Linked DNA regions of Homo sapiens: region 2 is linked to region 1. Evidence: promoter capture Hi-C in 16 types of primary human blood cells and fetal thymus (Javierre and others, 2016). All regions are on one chromosome and are shown on one strand. The core of a region is centred on a gene start or on the middle of the fragment in contact, and the rest is flanking DNA. Distances in the headings are between cores, read along the strand shown. Region 1 holds the start of LRP12 (LDL receptor related protein 12). Region 2 has its middle 170 kb from the start of LRP12.

Evidence for each region. Contacts are between HindIII fragments. The CHiCAGO score rates a contact against its expected background, and 5 or more counts as called.
Region 2: a fragment that was not itself captured here is called in contact with the fragment with the promoter of LRP12 in region 1 in 2 of 17 cell types (M2 macrophages and megakaryocytes); the score reaches 6.1 in M2 macrophages.

What each region holds. Positions count from the first base shown.
Region 1 is chr8:104,587,880-104,591,052 of GRCh38, reverse strand. It overlaps LRP12 (LDL receptor related protein 12), which reads left to right and starts at 1,795. Exons shown (of 7, transcript NM_013437.5): 1 at 1,795-2,234. The coding sequence starts at 2,156. RefSeq lists silencers at 1,757-2,096, 2,527-2,636. The HindIII fragment of the contact is 14,799 bases long and covers 1-3,173 here.
Region 2 is chr8:104,760,894-104,764,189 of GRCh38, reverse strand. No RefSeq gene overlaps it. Among named protein-coding and RNA genes, the nearest start is that of LRP12, 170 kb to the right of the region's middle. The HindIII fragment of the contact is 1,665 bases long and covers 1,114-2,778 here.

The DNA.
Region 1 (3,173 bases), core at 546-3,045:
AAGACAACTGCAATTTGTTTAGTGAAAAACACTGAAGTTGCTTCTTTCCAACAAGAATGGAAAACATTTTTGGAGTGCTGGTTGCTTTTTTTACCAGATGATATAAGATTTGTTAATTATTAGATTTTTGTAATACTTATTAATACATTTTTCTCTTATCTTTTGGAATAGCATTTCCTGGTTTTAAAAAAAAAAACTTAAAAGGGGGCAAATCGGCAGGAGACTGAGGAAAAGCCTAAATGTATTCCCCAGAAAGTATGTTTTAAATTTTAACATTTACTTACTGAGAGGTGAGGCCAGCTGAACTTCCTGGGTCCAGTGGGGACTTGAGGAACTTTCCTGTCTTACAAGAGGATTGTAAAATGCACCAATCAGCGCTCTGTAAAATGCACCAATCAGCACTCTGTAAAACGCACCAATCAGCAGGATTCCAAAAGTAGCCAATCGCAGGGAGGATTGAAAGAGGGGCACTCCGATAGGACAGAAATGGAACATGGGAGGGGACCACAAGGGAATAAAAGCTGGCCACCACCAGCCAGCACCTGGGGTTCTCTTCCATGCTGTGGAAGCTGTCCTTTTGCTCTTCGCAATAAACCTTGCTACCGCTCACTCTTTGAGTCCGTGCCATCTTTAAGAGCTGTTAACAGTCACCGGGAAGGTCTGCAGCTTCATTCTTGAAGTCAGGGAGACCACGAACCCCCTGGCAGGCACCAACTCCGACACATTACTAGGCGCTAAGCATTGTGCTAGAGAGTTTGCTGTGGTATAGGGGCAACAATCTTTACTTTGGAATGAGAAAAACTGTTTCAAACAACTTACTTGCCATGAGTAATTTAATTTCTCTCTTTTCTATAAAACATGGGTAATATTTATCTCACAAGGATGTTTGGGATTAAAAAGTGACAACCTATGTCAATAGGACAGCATGATGCAGTGTAGGTCTTCAATGAATAGCATGGAGAGTGCTTGCAAAGGGCAACGATAAAATCTAATATAAATAAGACGTTGTAGACAAACGCTTTAAAAACACAGGGGGTAAGGTCTGATGTGCCAGCGTCACTACAGACGTACTTAGAAAAGTGTTCTGGGGATCTAAGTAAAGGAGGACTCCCATTTGCTGGGAGTGAGAAAAGAGCTTTAGGGAAACTGCAGCGTGATGGGCGAATCCTCCTTTCAATATATCTACCCTGAAAGTCGGCTCCAGCCCTGCCGAACATCCTGGCCCAGCTGCACCCGACCCAGCGTGAGATGTCAAATGACCTCTTGGCGCTTCCACGCCAGACTGGAGGGGCTCTGCACAAGCCTTGCCCGACTCATTCCGGGCACCTTGAGCGTGGGAGTCCACACTGCCCCTTGACCGACCAGCTGCCAGGTTGGCCGCACTAACTTGAGCCCACCCCCACTCGAAGCTCCGCGCCGACAGCAAGTGGAGACTTGGGGGTACCGGATAGAGGAAGGAACTCCCAAGTTGTCAGCTTCAGACCATCCACGCCTCCCCCAACACGGAACCACCTTCAGCCTCCCAGCTGGTATCCCACCCCCCCTCCCCCCACCCGCTGGGCCAGAGCCCAGCCCTCGGACAGCGACCGTGCTCCTCCACACACCCCGCGCTCCAGCCCCTGGGCATCCAGCAGCCGGCGTTCGCACGCTCTGTCATCGATTGGCGCTGCCTTGCTCCTTGGGCTCCCGTCGCGTGGAAATCGGCCCGAAACTTGGAAAGTCCAGCGGAGCGCGGGGAGGGAACCGAGGCAGGCGGGCCAGGGGATTGCCGATCGCACGGATGGGCGCGCGCTCAGTCTGGCGAGTGGCGGCGCCGGCTAGCCCGAGCGGCGCGAGGCCGGAGTCCGGCGTCCGCCACCCTCTCGTCTCGCGCTGGCGCGCGAGCTCCTTGCCCTTGCCCCCAGGAGGGCCGCCCCGCGTGGGGCTCTCGCACCGCCCGGGGTGGGAGCAGGCGAGCCGGAGGGAGGAGGGAGGAGGGAGCGCGCGCGGGCGGCGGCGGCCCCTCCCTTCCCCCTCCCGCAGCCGCGGAGAGCGCAGGGAGCAGCCGGTGGCTCGGCGGCGGCGGCGGCGGCGGCGGCGGCGTCGGCGTCGTCTACCTCCAGCTTCTCCTCCCTCCTCCTCCGTCTCCTCCTCTCTCTCTCCATCTGCTGTGGTTATGGCCTGTCGCTGGAGCACAAAAGAGTCTCCGCGGTGGAGGTCTGCGTTGCTCTTGCTTTTCCTCGCTGGGGTGTACGGTAAGTGTCCGCGTCCCCGCGCCCCGCTGACCGAACAAAGCTGAGGCGACCCGGGCCCCGAGGCCTCCAGGACGGGGGTTCCCCTGGAGACTCCCGCGGAGACCCTGGCTACCGGCGGGACAAAGACCGGTGAGGGGGTGGATGTGGCGGAACGGGTGTCCCCACACGGAGATGCTTTTCTCCACTCGTCCACCTCCAGACCCTCGGGTGGTGGAGAGGGGCTGGGGGGCCCGGCCGGGAGGGCCCCGGCGGAGCGAGGGGGTGGCGGGCGGACTTCCCGACCTGGGTTCGAGGGCCCCCGCGGCCAGTTGCTCCAGGACCCGTAGCCTGGCACAATCCACACACAAAGATGCTTGACTGTGAGAAAGCAGAGGAGCTCGCCCCCGCCGCTGCCGGGACGGTCCTTCCCCCCGCCCCCTCAACCCGGGGTTAGGAAGTTCTCTCACCGGCGAGATTCCCACCGCGCCAGCCCTTGTCCTACTCGATTCCCTGAAAAGGCTTCCCGCTGACTTCTCCCCACTCCACCTCGGGGGCAAGGGCTCTGCCGAATCCGGGCGTGCAGGGTCCTGTTGGTTCCCCGGGAGCAGCACGCGGGAGAAGGCCAGAAAATAGTTTCCAGCCCCACCTCAGTCTCTCCTGTTAGGGTGTACACATCTGTCCTGACTCCTAGTTCAATTGTAATTTCATCCATCCTCGTCCGCCGCTGTGGTCACTGTTACTTTATTCCAGTCGATGGATCGGGTTAGAGATAACTCCTTTCGGGTTAAGAGAAGGCTGAAGACTGTGCGGACAGCTTTATATTGCGTTGGGGTCTGAGCAAGAGCTGAATGGAATTAATTGCAAAGAACATCTATCTCTTAAGATAATTAAGTTACACTTCTGACTTCACCGTTCTTAGTTCATCAGTTAAACACACTGAATAGGTATTTCAGAGAGCTC
Region 2 (3,296 bases), core at 697-3,196, 170 kb before region 1:
TAACACTGGCAGAAATGGACAAGTCGTGAGATGAGGGGGTTTGGGAAAGACGATGCCCGTGACTTATATTTAGGACTTGTTTGGGGTTGAGTGATGGGAAGATATCCAAGTGGAATGTCTTCTATGCTGATGGATCATGGCATTGGAGATCAGACAGGGTTAGGGCTGAGGGCATTATCTATGAAGGCCTACATTTAGCATCTATATTATATTAGTAGTCACTGAAAATAAGGCAGGATTTGTTTGCCCAAAGATAAATAGTAAAGAGGGAGGTCACCCACATCGAAAATTCAGCAATGGTGACAGCAGAAACTAGAAGAAAACTAATGTGTATTCTCACAAAAGTCCCAGTAAGGTTTTGTGTTTAGTTGGAGGAAGTAGTCCCCTACATCCCAATGCTGACAGTGTCAGAGGTGTTTCAACCAGAGCAACTCCATCTTGAATAGGAGCTGGGTAATATAAGGCTGAGACCTACTGGGCTGCATTCCCAGATGGTTAAGGCATTCTAAGTCACAGGATGAGATAGGAGGTCAGCACAAAATACAGGTCATAAAGACCTTGCTGATAAAACAGTTTGCAGTAAAGAAGCTGGCCAAAACCCACCAAAACCAAGATGGCCACTAGAGTGACCTCTGGCCTTCCTCACTGCTACACTCCCACTAGCGCCATGACAGTTTATAAATGCCATGGCAACATCAGGAAGTTATCCTATACGGTCTAAAAAGGGGATTCACCTCTTTAGTATATAATTTAAAAAAAAAAAAAACAACATAAAAATGGGCAACCAGCAGCCCTCAAGGCTGCTCTGCCTATGCAGTAGCCATTCTTTCATGCCTTTACTTTCTTAATAAGCTTGTTTTCACTTTACTCCATGGGCTCGCCCTGAATTCTTCCTTGTGCGAGATCCAAGAACCCTCCCTTGGGATCTGGATCCAGACCCCTTTCCTGTAACAAATGTCACGGCAGATGAGTTTGAGAAAACACAATTGAATGTAGTCTCCAGAACATCACCAGCGCCCTCAGAGAAGCACTGGGGGGTGGGAGGGTAGAGTGCGAAGCTAACCTCTGATCCTGCCTGCCCTTATAGAGCCCTGAGAAGTCATCCAGGAAGCTTGAGAACTAGTCTAGAAACAGGAAAACTAAGAATGTTATCCCAAAATTTCACAGTGAATGACAGAATGCCAAGTCTTCTAGGCCTGGAATAAATAAATAAAATGAAGGGGATGTGCTGCCCCTGACACGTGGAGGGCGCAGACCCAAAAGAGAAGTAGATCCTTCAGAGCAAATGTCTACTTCTGATTGAATGATCTGACCCTGTGATTCTCCCACAGGATCTCCAGCTTTCAGCTGCAGTACACCCTCTGCAGTGCCAGGAAACATGACCGTGAGAAAGAAAAATACTTTTTATCTGAGGAATGTGAGCCCCTTTAAATTATCAGGCCCAGAAAGGCATTTGAAATATAACACTAGTCATACCTCACTCGCCCTTGAGCTGATACATACCCCATTTATCCTGATATAATTATTACACATTGTATGCCTGTATCAAAATATCTCATGTATCCCATAAATATATATACCTACTATGTACCCACAAAAATTAAAAATGAAAATAATTGTTTCTTGAAGCCACTTGCAATGTAGGCTCTAGACTAACTGATGCCAAGTAGCCATAAAATGCTGTACACCCTGTACTTCAACAATGTATAGCCAATCATTAACCAGTGTGTCAGAGACGTTTGAACCAGAGTGACTCCATCTTGAATAGGGGCTGGGTAAAATAAGGCTGAGACCTACTGGGTTGCATTCCCAGGAGGTTAAGGCATTCTTAGTCACGGGATGAGATAGGAGGTCAGCACAAGACACAGATCATAAAGACCTTGCTGATAAAACAGGTTGCAGTAAAGAAGCTGGCTAAAACTTACCAAAACCCAAACCAAGATGGCGATGAGAGTGACCTCTGGTGTCCTCACTGTTACACTCCCACAAGCACCATGACAGCTTATAAATGCCATGGCACCATCAGGAAGTTACCCTATATGGTCTAAAAAGGGGAGGCATGAATAATCCACCCCTTGTTTAGTATATAATCAAGAAATAACCATAAAAATGGGCAGCCAGCATCCCTTGGGGATGCTCTGCCTATGGAGTAGCCATTCATTTATTCCTTTACTTTCTTAATAAACTTTATCTCACTTTATAGATTCACCCAGAATTCTTTCTTGTTCAAGATCCAAGAACCTCTCTTGGGGTCTGGATCCAGACCCCTTTCTGGTAACAAATGTTATTTCTGTTAACCAATGAGAATTCCTGACAAACAACTTTTGTAACTGCCCCCTCTCCTGATTCATCCTTTTTTCTTTAAAAACTTGAGCCTCTATTTTGTTCTCTGGACCACTCGCCAAGGCAACTTGGAAGCGTATCCCAGGCTGCAGCCCTTGACCTTGGCCCAAATAAACTCTCTATATTAATTTTGCCTCAGCTTCTTCCTTTTAGGCCAACAACCAAGTATACCTAACTAAATTCAGTGGAGCTTCCTGGAGTGTCAATTAGATTCAGATTTTTAGTGGAGTAGAGGGTAGTATTTGTATATTATAATCCAAGGAAATGGGGTGCATTATGGTACAGAATGCAAAATGTTCATGGTGTTTGAGATAAAGCCCAGGACTTCAAAGTAATTTCAAAATCATGGTGTGCCATTTGGGGCCACACAGGCTCAGACCACAGAAAATATTTTTTTAACTTATCTGCTGTTATATACACTTCCATGAGAAAGCTTGAGTAGCACTATTACTTTACTCCTTATTCACTTCTTGTCAGGTAAAGACATTATTATAAAGTCCATGTCACCTCTACTAGGATTGATATTCAGTTCTACTGCAGACGTTCATTCTCATAGTTAATTGCCTCTGTCATACCAATGATTAAGTATTTTGAATTATTCACCAGATATTCTTATTTTCATATTTGTCTTATTTTCCTGTCCTTTTATCAAAATCTCTTCATCTCTTTTGGAACAGGGGCCGTGTCTAACTTTTCTGGGGCTCCTGAGCAATGTCTGCACCTATATCTTGCATGCAGTAGGCCCTCAATGAATTAAATCGACCCAAACCGAACATTGCAGAAGGCCAATTGTGACCATTGGTTTTAATAAGCTGCATTATGGAAATTTACTATTTTAAAGTACTATATTAAAGCACATTCTCTCATCTGATTTTCACAAGAACTTACTGGTCTAGGCCAAAACACAAGCCACAGAGTCGGAACTAGAAATCATGTCTTCAGAACACTTTTCA